4 separate regions of the Homo sapiens genome follow, and regions 2, 3 and 4 are each linked to region 1. Evidence: promoter capture Hi-C in 16 types of primary human blood cells and fetal thymus (Javierre and others, 2016). All regions are on one chromosome and are shown on one strand. The core of a region is centred on a gene start or on the middle of the fragment in contact, and the rest is flanking DNA. Distances in the headings are between cores, read along the strand shown.

Region 1 (3,706 bases), core at 22-2,521:
CCATTCTCCTGCCTCAGCCTCCCAAGTAGCTGGGACTACAAGCTCCCGCCACGACGCCCAGCTAATTTTTTTTTTTTGTATTTTTAGTAGGGACGGGGTTTCACTGTGTTATCCAGGATGGTCTCGATCTCCTGACCTCGTGATCCACCCACCTCGGCCTCCCAAAGTGCTGGGATTACTGGCGTGAGCCACCGCGCCTGGCCTAATTTTGCATTTTTAAGTAGAGACGGGGTTTCACCATGTGGGCAAGGCTAGTCTCGAACTCCTGACTTCGTGATCTGCCCGCCTCGGCCTCCCAAAATGCTGGGATTACAGGCATAAGCCACCGTGCCCGGCTTGAGATAATGATTCTTAACATGTGGTATGTAGAGCAAGTGTACTCCCGCCCTAGACTGTGAGCCCCGTGAGAGATGTGGCTTCAGTGTAACCTCTCTGGCCTCCCCAGGGCTACAGCACACAGTCTATAGAGGTGCTCAATAAATGTTTGTTGACCCAAGTAGACACATAAGGAGGTGAGTTCCGACGTGGGGGTGGGGGTGCCAGGAGGCAGAGAACCGAAGTAGACCTGGCTGCAGGGCTGGGATCTCAGGGCAGTGCTGGGGACTGGGAATGTGGTGTTGAGAGGGCTTCAGGGAGACGTGATGGGAAGATGGGGAAGCCTCTGCACGTGGACAGAGCCAGGTGGTGTGGACAGGGGCTGTGAGATTGGAGAAGGAGGCGTCTGGGGGACTGGTAGCGGCTCCCAACAGGGGAACGTCCCTCTGGGGGTGGCCTTTATCCATCTCTGCGGGGCCTGTCCTAGCTTCCCTCCTGGCTCGGCCAGCCTCCCGGCTGGTCTCTTCGCTCTCTTTCTTGATCTCTAGCTCTTTATTCCTCTGACATTCTGCCCCATCTGCTCCCGGACTCTTCCGCCGCATCTGTATCTTAGTCTCTTTCTAACTCCCTGCCTGGGGCCCCCACCTTTGAGCATATATCGGCTTCTCTCTCTGCCGTTGTGTTTCTCTGGGGTTATCTTTCCCTCTACTCCGCCCGGACACGCCCTCTATCTCTTCCTCCCACCCTGTCCCAGTCTAGTACCTGGGGTGGGGGTAATGGAGAGACAGCTAGGTCCCTAAGAGAAGTCAGGGGGGCGGGCCCAACCTCTCCATATTTACATATGTATGAGGTCGCCTGGGCCAGTGGCGAGGAGGCGGAGCTTCTGGGGGTGGGAAGGGGGCGGGCACCCCCAGAGCCGCAGAGTATAAAGACCGCGCTCGGCGACCGCGGGCCTCGCACTGCTGAGGAGCGGAGCCTCCGCCTGGGGGGCCCCCCATCCCTGGCTGTCCCCCAGCTGCGCGTCCCCGCCCCACCCCCGCGGCTGAGCCACCACCGGTGCAGTGGTCTCCGCTTGGCGGAGCGAGCCTTGAGCTTCGTTCCACAGCTTCTTTGCATCTTGGATTTCGGGGCGGCCCCCTCCCCCACCTCTCTCTGCCTTTTTGTACCCCGCTTTTTTTCTGCGTTCTGCTCGGTTTTTGTAGCCGTCTGTTTTTGCACCCCATTTCGTTTTGTTTCTAGACGGTTTGGTGGGGGGTGAAGCTGCATTCATACCCCTTCCTCTTGTTATTCTCCCCTGCTCTGACAGCACCCCTTTTCATCGCAGTTGGGGGGCCTAGGATCGGTGCATCTTCCGCCGCGCTGCCAGCACCCCGCAGCGCGTGGTCGTGCACCCCGGAATCTGCAGCAGCTGCATATCTGAGGGGGGTCTCCTTTGCCCGCGCCGCCTTCGCTCCCCGTGCTTTTGGGTGTGTGGAGGGCTTCAGCGCGCGGCGCCCCCGCTTCTCCGCAACCCCCCGCCCCGCGCCCGGACTCGCCCCGCGCCACCAAGATGGTCATCCAGAAAGAGAAGAAGAGCTGCGGGCAGGTGGTTGAGGAGTGGAAGGAGTTCGTGTGGAACCCGAGGACGCACCAGTTTATGGGCCGCACCGGGACCAGCTGGGGTACGCAGGGCCGGCACGCAAGGGGCGGGGGAAAGCCGCGGGGCGACGCCTCGGGGGCGCAGGGTCCCGCCGACGCGGCCCCAGCTCCCCTCCCGGGTCCCCGGCGTCCAGCCTCCCTGCCGGGCTCTGGGCTGGGAGGGGGCCGAATCGCCAGTCTAATCTCCCCGGCTGGCCGTGCGGAGGCGGAGAAAGTAGGTCACAGCCGCCTTCCCGCCCCCCGCGGAGCCCCCTCGGGCGGGGGGTCGCCAGCTCCGCCTGCGTGTCCGCGCCGGCGCTCACACTCCCTCTCGGGGCCTGTCCGCTCCACACGGGCGTCCCCCACCTCCAAAGAGCGCCCCTTCCCTCCCTCCGGCTCTCACTAGCTCCGCAGCCCCGTCTATTTTTAGCTCGTGCCCACCCCCTGGACCCTGGGAACGTTCATGAGGGGGCGGGTCTTGGGGGGTGTGTTAGGGGGGTTCTTCACGGCGGAAGTTGTCTGTATCCCACCGCCTGGCCTTGGGAGCCTTCTGGGACTGCTTTGTGGGTTGGGGGGCTGCTGATAGTATGAGTTTTACCGAGGCTGCAGGTTTTGCTCCCATGTCGGTGACGGAGGGAGGAGTGGTCGCTGTGGTGATTTGTGTGCATCAGCCAGCCAGGTGTCTGTGACAGTCGGATGACTTGGAAGCCTCCCCAGGCTGACCATGGCAGGACTCAGGGAGCTGTAGTGGTCGGGGGTTGGGGGGGTGGAGGGGGTCTGGTGACCGGCACAGGTGCAGGTGAGGGGTGGAATTCTTCCAAGAGGGATGGTCAAGCTGGGACGTTGAGACACAGGGGACAGAGGACACTGTGTGACACGATTTACAATCTTTCCACACTGGGCACCGTCCCCATCAGTCCACCCATTCGGGGCCTACACGAAGTGGGTCCCATGCAATCCATTCCCTCAGGGAACTCAAACTCCAGCCCCTGGGATGAGAAGAATCCAGCAATGCTTGGGAGAGCCAGAGGACTTCATGGAAGAAGTGTCCTCTGAGATGGAAGGATTGGGAGTCCAGGGTGGTGGGAACAGCCGGCCCTTGGGTCCTTACTTCAGGCGGGGGAGCCATGGAGAGATCCCACCAAGGGAAGGCTGTGGGAGATTCTGCCTTTCCTCCCTGCCTCTGCCCAGGGTGCTGGGTGTGAACTGAGGGTGGGGTGACTGTTGAAGGTTCTAACAAGCCGTCTCTGAGAGATTTGTAGCTAGGCTAGTGTTAGGTCTTTCATTTCAGGAACTGTGTTCAAAGTTTGGCTTCTGAAGGGCACCAGGAGAGAGATGTTGCTATTCAAATCTGAGGGTCCAGTCTCTGCGGGGTGGTATGAGGGTTTGCTTGTGAATGGTGGCCAGTACCCGCTTTAAAAGGCACCATGCTAGCACAGCTTTAAGCATGAGTACGAATGCAGAGGTAACAGATGTGTGCCTTGTCAGGACTATGCATGGTTGAGAAGTTGGAAATGTAATTGGAGGCAAAATAACAGACCTCCACAAGGTCGGGCTTCACTGTGCCCTAGGACCAGGAGGGGGCTGGGAGTCATGGCTAGAAGCCAGACACAACTGCCTGTTTCCAGTTTGTCTCATTTTGCCTCCAGAGGAAGGCTCTAAGACATCCCTGTGGCTCTGTGATCAGTCCCAGTGCAGAACTTCAGAGTGGGTAGAGGGGTGTGTGGGGATAGTTGAGGTTATGGTGGGAACCTTGGGCCCTGCTGACCCTGTT
Region 2 (3,669 bases), core at 472-2,971, 470 kb after region 1:
TCCACGGTGCAGTAGCCTTCAATCCACTGATAGCAGGGGAAGTGGGATACACTACCATCCGGTTCGGTGACACAGATGCGGCTACAGTACCAAGAGTCCTTGCGGAAGAAAGCGTAGCGCTCCTTGTGTACACGCAGCAGCAAGAGCTCACCCAGCTCCGCTGTGCAACGCACCTTGTACTTCTGTACCTGAGGGGACCAAGACAGCAAGCAGGTGAGAGGCGGGGAACTGCCAAGGCGGTCCTTGCGCCTTGCAAGATGCATCTACACCTAAGCCTATTCGGGCATACAAACCTGAGCTGCTCCCAGCCCATACCGGGCTTTTGTATGAATTAGAAAAAGCTTCCCCGGGCCGGGAGAGGTGGCTCACGCCTGTAATCCTAACACTTTGGGAGGCCGAGGCGGGTGGATCACCTGAGGTCAGGAGTTTGAGACCAGCCTGCCCGATGAAACCGCTTCTCTACTAAAAATACAAAAAATTAGTCGGGCGTCGTGGCAGGCGCCTGTAATCCCAGCTACTTGGGAGGCTGAGGCAGGAGAATCGCTTAAACCCGGGAGGTGGAGGTTGCAGTGACCTGAGATCACACCACTGCCCTCCAGCCTGGGCAACAAGAGCAAAACTCCATCTCAAAAAGAAAAGAAAAAGGTGCCCGAGCACAGTGGGCACTGCATTTCACTAGCTTCCTAGGCCGGCTGGGAACTCTTGTGGAGGCCACCTGGGGCTGGCAGAGGCAGGCAGATCCCCTCGATAAGAGGAAACCCAGGCTCAGAGAGGGGAAGCGACTTGCCCAAAGCCCACGGTCAATTATGGGAGGAGTTTAGGAGCCAGGGGAAGTCCCTCTACTCCCTGTCCAACGCTCCTTCCTCTCCACAGTCCTGCCTGGATGGAGTTCATCATCTCCAGGAAAGACAGGGACCTCAATAGGGAAGGTGAGGAGGTCAGGGCCGGTATCCTGAGTTCAGCAGGATCTCAAGAGTCCAGGAGGAATACTCCTCCCGCCTGCGGCCCCTGCCCCTCTGAGGTCGCGCTTCCCTGTCTCCTTTGTACTCACCGATCCAGGGGCGAAGTCCCTGCCCATTCGATCTAGCCGCTGCTTGGGGCTTTCACCACACGTGCCCACCAGTGTGACAGAGATGTTGTCCAGTGTGCCGGCCCTCAGGTAGGGACCAGTGGTCACACACAGGCGGTACACTGCCATGATGGGAAGGAGGAAGGGATGCCCCGGCAACGCTGGCCGCAGCAGCAGCCGGCCTGGAGGAGAAGAGCGGCACGCCGGACAGGGCTGGGTTTCTGGGCGGAGGGCTAGGGGCTGCGGGGCTGGGTAGGGCTGAGGATGGGCCCAGCTCTCTCTGGGATGTTCCTGGGCTTTCTCTCTCCGAAGCTCCCTGCTGGCGGCTCGGGCTTCCTCTCTCCGCCCACAGTCTTGCACTCTAATACTTGTTTGCTTGCCTCTGACACAGCCGGTCCCTCTGGCTGGCTCACCCAGATGGATATCAGGAGCCTGGGTTCCACTGCGGAGGGAGGGATCAGATGCTGAGATGGAGAAAAGGAGGTAACGCCTGTATAATTGGGACACTGCCCTCCGCCTGGTCAGCGGCCCGGACTGATGCCCTGGAGTGCTTGTCCGCCCACTCCCCAATGTCCCCCAAGATCTGTTCCTCCCCATTCCCAGGCAGAGATGAGCACAGGGCACCTGCATTCCTACGTGTGAATCATCCGTGTGAATCACTAAACAGTGGAGAGTTGCACTTGGTCATAAATCACACGTGACTGCAGCCACACGCAGGTGAGTCGCACACGCATTCCAGCACATGTCAAATGGTCAGGAACAGCTCCCTGTCACCCCATACACCGATCCCCCCACGCATGGCCCTCTTTGTCCCCAGCCTTTGGCACGCCCGACCTCATTCTCTGCTCTGGAGTAGGGCAGGTCAGGAAAGCGAAATACAGCGCCGGCAAACAGGGTCTGAATGCCCCGCGTGGCATTCTTTCCGCTCCAGGACCGCCCTGGGCCTGCAGGATCCTGGGCGGGAGCCCAGGTGTCCGGGATCTGGGCCACTAGGGACTGGGGAGGAACCTCTCAGAGAAGCCCATAGCCCGCAGCGGCCCCGCGCGGCCGGTTCCGGCGCCGCACTGTTCCAGCCTCTACTATGGTACAGTCCCTGCGTCGCAGCCTCGGCGGGGGCTCTAAGAACGGGAGGCAGAAAAAGCTCAATCAGCAGCAGGCGAGCTTCACCCGCTGCTTCCAAATCTGTGCCAAAATATTCTATGCTGCACAGATAAAATCCTCTGTCGGTTCTACAAGCCTGGCTTTTCCTATAGAGAACCCTCTTATAAGCAAAAAGTAAAGCTCTCGTGAAGAGCCCGGATAGCTCAGTCGGTAGAGCATCAGACTTTTAATCTGAGGGTCCAGGGTTCAAGTCCCTGTTCGGGCGGCATGTCTTTGCTTTTGGGTACCGCACTTCGCATAAAATGGTAACAAAAATAGTTACTAGTTTTTAAAGCTAGGTGATACAGAAACTTGATTTCCACAAAATACAGCAAACGACGGTGGAGGGTAATAAACATACTTTAAAACAGTACAAACGCGAGCCGTATTATCGAATTTACATTTTCTGGTAGCCACATTACAAAGAATAAAAAGCAAGCGAAATTAATTTCACGGATCTATTTTACTTACCCTAATATACCAAAATCTTATTTTAACATATAATCAACATTCTAAAAATATTAATGAAATTTTAAGTCTTTTTGTTTGTACAAAGCCTTCCTTCAAAAGAAGATGTGTATTTAGAAGCTGGCAATACATCTGAATTCATATATTTCAAGTGCTCGATAACGGTGTCTACCATATCCAACAGCAGACTTTGTTTTGTTTTCGTTTTAAGTGACGGGTGTGGAAGACACGCAAAATAGAATGTCCAGTAATGTACACAATCTTGAAAGACACCACGAGGGAGGTTCCATGGTGTAATGGTTAGCACTCTGGACTCTGAATCCAGCGATCCGAGTTCAAATCTCGGTGGAACCTTGAAGCTTTTCTTTTAATATCAGCATGTTGAATATTGTTAATTGATTTTCACAGAGGGGATACTCCTATGACCCAAGATAATACGACAAAAAAAAAAAGTAAACTAGGACACTACCAATTATTTGTGCTTTTCCTACCGGATAATTGAGTCCTATAACACAGTGTTAAGAGAACGTACAATAAATTATTTAAATATGTTGGAAGTTGAGCTAACATTTGAAAACATGTTAAAATAGAGATGTTATGAAGAAACGAAATAATAGAGATGTTATGAAGAAACGAAATATTGCTTCAGCAGTTACCATCAGGTCTTAGCTTCTGGGATGGATGCAGGCCTATGATCTCTCTGGAAGACCAAACACGGAAGATGATGGTGAAACCATTACCAGGGGAATTCGTAAAATTACTTTCTGCATGTAAATAGGTGTAACCTCACAGAACTGTTAACAGAACTGTAGCAGGTGCGTAATCCACCAGAAAAACTCCAGCCTGGCAGCGGTGGGATTCGAACCCACGCCTCCGAAGAGACTGGAGCCTAAATCCAGCGCCTTAGACCGCTCGGCCACGCTACCTGCACGAAAACTTACTGTCCCCGTTGTCCTCCTAAGAGACTAGAAGTAAGGAATGGGGCAAATCTT
Region 3 (3,479 bases), core at 868-3,367, 320 kb after region 1:
TTTATTGTTGTTGTTGTTTTCTTGAGACAGAGTTTCACTCTTGTTACCCAAGCTGGAGTGCAATGGTGAGATCTGTGCTCACTGCAACCTCTGCCTCCTGGGTTCAAGTGATTCTCCTGTCTCGGCCTCCCGAGTAGCTGGGATTACAGGCACGTGCCACCACGCCTGGATAATTTTTTGTATTTTTTTAGTAGAGTTGGGGTTTCACCATGTTGGCCAGGCTGGTCTTGAACTCCTGACCTCGTGATTTGCCTTGCCCTCCCAAAGTGCTGGGATTACAGGTGTGAGTCACCGTGCCCAGCATTATATATATATATATTTTAAAAGGCTGGGCGTGGTAGCTCACACCTGTAATCACAGCATTTTGGGAGGCTGAGGCAGGCTTGCTTGAGGCCAGGAGTTTGAGACCAGCCTGGGCAATGTAGTGAGTTTAAAAAAAATTTTTTTTAATTTTATTGCTCTTTATATTGTAGTGTATTTTATTTTATTTTATTTATTTTGAGATGGAGTCTCGCTCTGTCACCCAGGCTGGAGTGCAATGGCGTGATCTTGGCTCACTGCAACCACTGCCTCCCACGTTCAAGTAATTCTCCTGTCTCAGCCTTCTGAGTAGCTGGGATTACAGGCACGCACCACCATGCCGGGTTAATTTTTGTATTTTTAGTAGAGACGGGATTTCACTACGTTGGTCAGGCTGGTCTCGAACTCCTGACCTCATGATCTGCCCGCCTCGGCCTCCCAAAGTGCTGGGATTACAGGCGTGAGCCACCACACCTGGCCTATATTACCTTTTAAATAAATTGTCTCATTTCCTTTGATGAAACAGATTTTTATCATCACACCTAATGAAACAGCATAAAAAATAGTTTACATGGTAATCTCATAAATTAGTAGATATGCAAACATTCTAAATAAAATTTTAGCAATCAGAATATAGTATAAATTTTAATAAAGTATAATTTTTAAAGGAATTTTAAAGGTGTGGTAGCTCACACCTGTAATCCCAAAAGTGTGAGAGGCTGAGGCGCAAGAATCGATTGAGCTCTGGAGTTCCATACCTGGGCAACATAGCAGACCTCATCTGTACTAAAAATAGTCCCAGCTACTCTGGAAACTGAGGCGGGAGGATTGCTTGAGCTCGGGAGATTGAGATCAGTGCTATCATCATGCCACTGCAGTCCACCCTGGGTGACAGAGTAAGACCCTGTCTCAAAAAAGAAGAAAAAAAGAACATGTACTTTTTAACCAATTCTGTTTTTGAACTTATTTCAAATGGTCTTTCATTTTTGTTTTTCTGTCACTTATAAACATCCCCCACTAAAGCTCAATTTTCCACATAACCAATAATATTATTGGAAAAAATTCATATAATTATTTCCACAAATGCCAGAGGGAATTCTTCATGGAAACTCTCCCTAAAAGCAATAAAAGGTTGCCTCTTTAACATGACAAAAAGGCTCTATTGAAAACCAAAAGTCAAAATTACACTTAATGGAGAACATGAATTATTCCTCTTTAAAATAGGAACAAGACAAGGATATCTTATTACTACTATTCAACGTAGCTCTAAAAATTCTGACAAAGCTATTTGAGAAGAGAAAGAAAGATATACATAAAGAAAAGGAAGAAATAAAATGATCATGTTATGCAAATGAAATGAAAAGCACCTCAAAATTACTAGAGATAATAAATGAAGGCATCAAAGAAACAAGATATAATACAAATTAATTTAGGACAATTTTCCTCTTGATAATAGTGCATTTCTCATTTTTGTTCTTTCTTTCCATGCATCCCTTTCTGTTTTTATTCTTAAAGCTTCATGATTTTACAATTTATAAGTCCTGAACATTTTGTGTTAATCTTTTCTCAGATATTTTAAAGATTTTTTAATCGCTTTTATAAATGGAATTTTTTTTGACATTACATGTACTTTATTTTTCTTAAGTGTTTAAAATAAGGCATTTCGGCCAGGCACGGTCGCTCACGCCTGTAATCCTAGCACTTTGGGAGGCTGAGGCCTCCTCAGGTGGATCACCTGACGTCAGGAGTTCGAGATGAGCCTGGCCAACATGGTGAAGCCCTGTCTCCACTAAAAATACAAAAATTAGCTGGGCATGGTGGCATACACCTGTAATCCCAGCTACTTGGGAGGCTGAGGCAGGAAAATCGCTTGAACCCAGGAGGCGGAGGTAGCAATGATCCGAGATCGTGCCACGGAACTCCAGCTTGAGCAACAGAGACAGACTCTGCCTCAAAAAGAAAAAAAAAAAGGCATTTCTTTTGTAATCTAATTATAACATTTGCAGTTATTTGGAATTGTCTTTCATTTCTGTTTTTCTGTCACTTATAAACATCAGTCATTCACAATGACTAATGATAGAGGTACATCACGTAAGTATAGATGTAAAGTATTGTTTAAGAAAGCTTAGGTATTTATTTTTCGGGCTTTCATGTTGTTATGCTGTTCCTACTCTTCTTCTTCTTCTGTTTTTGTTTTGTTTTGTTTTGTTTTTTTGAGAAAGAGTCTTGCTCTGTTGTCCAGACTGGAGTGCAGTGGTGCAATCTTGGCTCACTGCAACCTCCGCCTCCCATGTTCAAGCGATTCTCCTGCCTCAGCCTCCTGAGTAGCTGGGATTACAGGCATGCGCCACCATGCCAGGCTAATTTTTGTATTCTTAGTAGAGACAGGGTTTTGCCATATTGGCCAGGGTGGTCTTGAACTCTGACCTCAGGTGATCCACCTGCCTCGGGCTCCTAAAGTGCTGGGACTACAGGTGTGAGCCACTGGGCCCAGCCTGTTCCCATTTTTCCATTGTTCTTCTCCTCCCCTCATTTTCTTTTTCTTTTTTTTTTCTTCTTTGAGACGGAGTCTCAGTCTGTCGCCCAGGCTGGAGTGCAGTGGCACGACTTGGCTCACTGCAACCTCCGCCTCCCGGGTTCACACCATTCTCCTGCCTCAGCCTCCCGAGTAGCTGCGACTATAAGCGCCTGCCACCACGCCCGGCTAAATTTTTTTTGTATTTTTAATAGAGACGGGGTTTCACTATGTTGGTCAGGCTGGTCTCGAACCCCTGACCTCTTGATCCACTCGCCTCGGCCTCCCAAAGTGCTGGGATTACAGGCGTGAGCCACCGCACCCGGACCCTCCTCTCATTTTCTTTTCTGGTGTCTTGAACCAGGTAACTGGGAGGCATATTAAGGGGTTTTAAATTTAGGTAATAAAACAAATCACTAGTTCCTGGTATACAGCACTAGATTTGGTTACAGAAGTTTTTGCTAACCATTACCTCTGGTTTCAGGCAGTTGTCAGGTGACTGGCCTCAGGATAACATATTGCTCTATGTATTGCTATGTGACAAACCACCCCAAAACTTCGTGGCTTCAGCAAAAATATGTGATTGTTGCTCATGGTTCTGTGGGTTGCTGGACTTAACCTGATAACTCTCACTCAGGATTTGCAGTGTCAGCCAATCTGAAGC
Region 4 (3,240 bases), core at 316-2,815, 370 kb after region 1:
GAGAGCCCAGGCTGGTTCCTAAACCCCGGGGCTTCCCCTGGGAGGGAAGCAGCCATTGCAGGAATTTTGGTTCAGTAGATCTGGAGTGGTTTGGAAATCCAGGCTTAGGAAACTCCGTAATCGGGGCCTTCTGTGGCCCCTCCCCTGGCCCTATCTCATCCCCAGTGCATAAACCTGGCTTCCGCAGAAGCCTCACAGGCTGTGCACTGCACAAGAGACAACTCTAGGGGGCAGCAGTCACCAGAGAACAATGTGAAAGCAGAAGCCGTGCCCACTCCCCTCCTGCAAGAAACTGACCCGTGACCCGCTCCTTCCTAGGTGAACCCCCATGACCCCTTTCCTCGACTCCCCTCTGAGATACCCCTCTTTTCTTCAGGATTGTTCTGGAAGGTCCTTTTCCTGAAAGTTGCTGCTATAGGTGACTGGAAGTCTGTCTAATGCTGGTGGACTCTGCCCAGCTCTGCCTCAAAGGATTTTGGGCCTTTTACAAGAGCTGGTTGCAAAACCAGCCATGTGACCTTGGGAAAGTGTCACGCATGCTCTGCTGTGATCCCTTCAGTGGCAAAATGGGGGGTGGCCTAAGTGGTTCCCAAGGCCCCTGTGCACCTGACAGCTGGGTGGCTTGTGGCCCTCACCCCCAGGAGCCCTGAGTCCAGCAGGGGATGTGAGGGTCAGGGATTCTCCGCTTCCCAGTGTCTCTCAGGGACCCAGGAAGGAGGATCTGGGATTGATGCCCGACCCCAGAGGAAGTGGAGTTCTGTTCCACCAGAGCAGGGTTTGTCACATGGCCTGAGGGGGCAAGGGCTCCTGTTTAGCCTCAAGCTTCATTCCTATCTCCATCTCCCACCAGTCAGAAACTGGCTGCTTCTCCTGTGGGTATAATCAGGGAACTTGCCCAAGTGCAGAGAAAAGCTTGCTTCAATGCTTTGAGGAAAGGAAATTGTGCCACACCTTGACTGACCAGAACATCCAAAGAGCGGCATTCTCTGTTTAACTAGGAGCTGCTGAGCAAGCAGTTGGACAGAAAATCCTCTCTGCTTAGAATTTTTTCTTTTTTTTTGAGTCTCACTTTGTCACCCAGGCTGGAGTGCAGTGCAGTGACACAATCTCGACTCATTGCAACCTCCTCCTCTCAGGTTCAAGTGATTCTCCTACCTCAGCCTGCCGAGTAGCTGGGATTACAGGCACCCGCCACCACGCCCGGGTAATTTTTTTGTGTGATTTTAGTAGAGATGGGGTTTCAGCATGTTGCCCAGGGTGGTCTTGAACTGACATCAAGTGATCTGCCCACCTTGGCCTCCCAAAGTGCTGGGATTACAGGTGTGAGACACCGCGCCTGACCTTTGCAGCAATTATCAATGCCCTGTCCTGGCAAGTCCCCAGTTGAAGTTGCCTTTGTGAAACTCTGACCTTCCAGAGCCTGGGCCTTGGCACATTTGACTCTTGGTGTCTGTCACCATTGCTACAGACCCTGGAAGAAGTTTGCAGCAGGCTAGGAAACCACCTAGGCTGCCACCAGAGGTAGTGAGTGTCCAGTCCCTGGAGGTGTGAAGGCAGAACTGGAGACATCATTGACCAGGGATACGACAGTGAGAGGGAATTCCGGAACTGAACCTTCACTACACCAAGTGTGGTTGGTGGGCCAGGGTCGGCACTGCCTGTGAGCTCATTAGAAATGAAGGATCTCAGGGCCCCACCCCAGACCTGCTGAGTCTGGATCTGCATTTTAACAAGTTCCTACAAAATATTGACACGCTCATTAAAGTTTCTGAATCATAGAACTAAATCACCCTAAGATCTTTAAATCTTAGAATCTCTAAGATCTCATAAAGCCAGGCTACAAACTAGCCACCAAATTTCTTTTGTTTGGCCTATAGAGTGTTTTGTTTTGAGCTAACATTTAAAAATCAACAGCTTCCACATTTTAAAAATGTATAGCAGATTTCCCCCTTCTCTTGAAATCAGAAGCCCCACATGGTGCTTGTGTCACCACTTAACCACATTCTGCTGCAGCTAAACAGCAACAGTCCCCTTTATCCAGATGTCGCCACTCCCCACAGACTCCGAGACACCAAGATTTTTTGAACATTCCTTTATATTCCTGCCTGGTGCCTGTAGACATTGAGCTTAGGACTCCTTAGCAGGTATTAGGATTACAGGGGCTCCTGGACGGGACTTTGCCTTCTTTTTTTTTTTTTTAAACTGATTCATGACTTCCACAAGCTTAGTGGTATTCCCCTCCTTCCTAAAGGTGAAGGAAGAATGTATCAAACATCGAGAATCCAGCACTTGTAAGTTCTGGTTACCGAAGGTGATGTTGCTACAGAGAGCAATTTAGTGCAATTTTAAAAACATTTTAAATTGAATTTAAATACGATGAATTAAAGATTAAAAACAAAACAAAACCCGGGCATGCACACACACACATTTTTAAAAGTTATTTACATTCTTGAAGATTTTCCTTAAGATTTTCTCTGTACTTAGGTCCCAGGGATTGAAGCGCAGATTCACATCTCTGGCCTTGGACCTGACTGTGTGGATAGAGCTCTCAGCCTCCTGTCTCTTCCCTCCCGTACCCGACCCTGCAGCCCTTCCCCTTCCTTCCCTCTCTCCCTGCCTGCAAGGGCCTGGAGTAGTTAATGGTGTGTGATTTCGGCTGCCTCAAGGAAGAGTCCAGGATTAGGTGCAGAGGGATTAGCTGGGACAGGCTTAGGCAGGGCTCCTCCCGGAAGCAGAGGCGGATGAGCCAGAGGGCAGACCCAGTTTAAGGTAGAAGTGGAGTGGGCAGGGCTGAGCCAGTTCCTTCCCACCTTCACTCAGCCTCCTTCCCAGGCTGGCCTCAAGCTCAAGTGACCAGATGTGATAGAAGAGCCCTGACCCCTCCCCAGCTAGAAGAACTTGGGGAACCCCCACCCCAGAGTTCACAGATCTAGTGGGAGAAGAGAAGGCAAAAGATGAAGCCTCAGCCTCCTCTCTGTGCCTCAGCCTCTCCTTTCTCTGTTCCTGCCTCCCTTTCTGCTCTATTCTCCTGTCTTTGTGTCCCCACAGTCCCCTTTCTGCCTGGCAGTCTCTGTCTGCCTTTCTCTGCAGTTTCCACCATTTCTCTGGAAATCTTATTTCCTGGACCCAGTCGGTTATCCAGTCTCAGGGCTCTGCTGACTCAAGTCCTCCCCACCCTGTTCCTGTGGCCTGGGCAACTCCCAGCGCATGAGAGCACCGGGGCCTGGCTTGGTCACTGGG

Evidence for each region. Contacts are between HindIII fragments. The CHiCAGO score rates a contact against its expected background, and 5 or more counts as called.
Region 2: a contact is called between the fragment with the promoter of ALOXE3 here and the fragment with the promoter of ATP1B2 in region 1, in 1 of 17 cell types (naive CD8 T cells). The highest score is 6.7, in naive CD8 T cells.
Region 3: a contact is called between a fragment that was not itself captured here and the fragment with the promoter of ATP1B2 in region 1, in 1 of 17 cell types (activated CD4 T cells). The highest score is 6.1, in activated CD4 T cells.
Region 4: a contact is called between a fragment that was not itself captured here and the fragment with the promoter of ATP1B2 in region 1, in 1 of 17 cell types (activated CD4 T cells). The highest score is 6.1, in activated CD4 T cells.

The regions. Positions count from the first base shown.
Region 1 is chr17:7,649,655-7,653,360 of GRCh38, forward strand. It overlaps ATP1B2 (ATPase Na+/K+ transporting subunit beta 2), which reads left to right and starts at 1,272. Exons shown (of 7, transcript NM_001678.5): 1 at 1,272-1,976. The coding sequence starts at 1,865. RefSeq lists enhancers at 1-424, 425-925, 1,200-1,842 and a silencer at 1,182-1,331. The HindIII fragment of the contact is 15,564 bases long and covers 1-3,706 here.
Region 2 is chr17:8,116,793-8,120,461 of GRCh38, forward strand. It overlaps ALOXE3 (arachidonate epidermal lipoxygenase 3), which reads right to left and starts at 1,722. Exons shown (of 16, transcript NM_021628.3): 1 at 1,694-1,722; 2 at 1,052-1,511; 3 at 1-188. The coding sequence starts at 1,198. TRK-TTT3-5 (tRNA-Lys (anticodon TTT) 3-5) reads left to right here and starts at 2,363; the gene lies at 2,363-2,435. TRQ-CTG1-5 (tRNA-Gln (anticodon CTG) 1-5) reads left to right here and starts at 2,960; the gene lies at 2,960-3,031. It overlaps TRL-TAG1-1 (tRNA-Leu (anticodon TAG) 1-1), which reads right to left and starts at 3,603; the gene lies at 3,522-3,603. RefSeq lists enhancers at 888-2,087, 1,809-1,888, 1,969-2,038, 2,189-2,288 and silencers at 2,809-2,858, 2,989-3,078, 3,449-3,658. The HindIII fragment of the contact is 2,695 bases long and covers 340-3,034 here.
Region 3 is chr17:7,964,483-7,967,961 of GRCh38, forward strand. No RefSeq gene overlaps it. Among named protein-coding and RNA genes, the nearest start is that of CNTROB, 34 kb to the left of the region's middle. RefSeq lists a silencer at 3,356-3,479. The HindIII fragment of the contact is 609 bases long and covers 1,814-2,422 here.
Region 4 is chr17:8,016,652-8,019,891 of GRCh38, forward strand. All of the region lies in intron 19 of GUCY2D (guanylate cyclase 2D, retinal), which reads left to right. Among named protein-coding and RNA genes, the nearest start is that of GUCY2D, 16 kb to the left of the region's middle. RefSeq lists a silencer at 84-264. The HindIII fragment of the contact is 1,311 bases long and covers 911-2,221 here.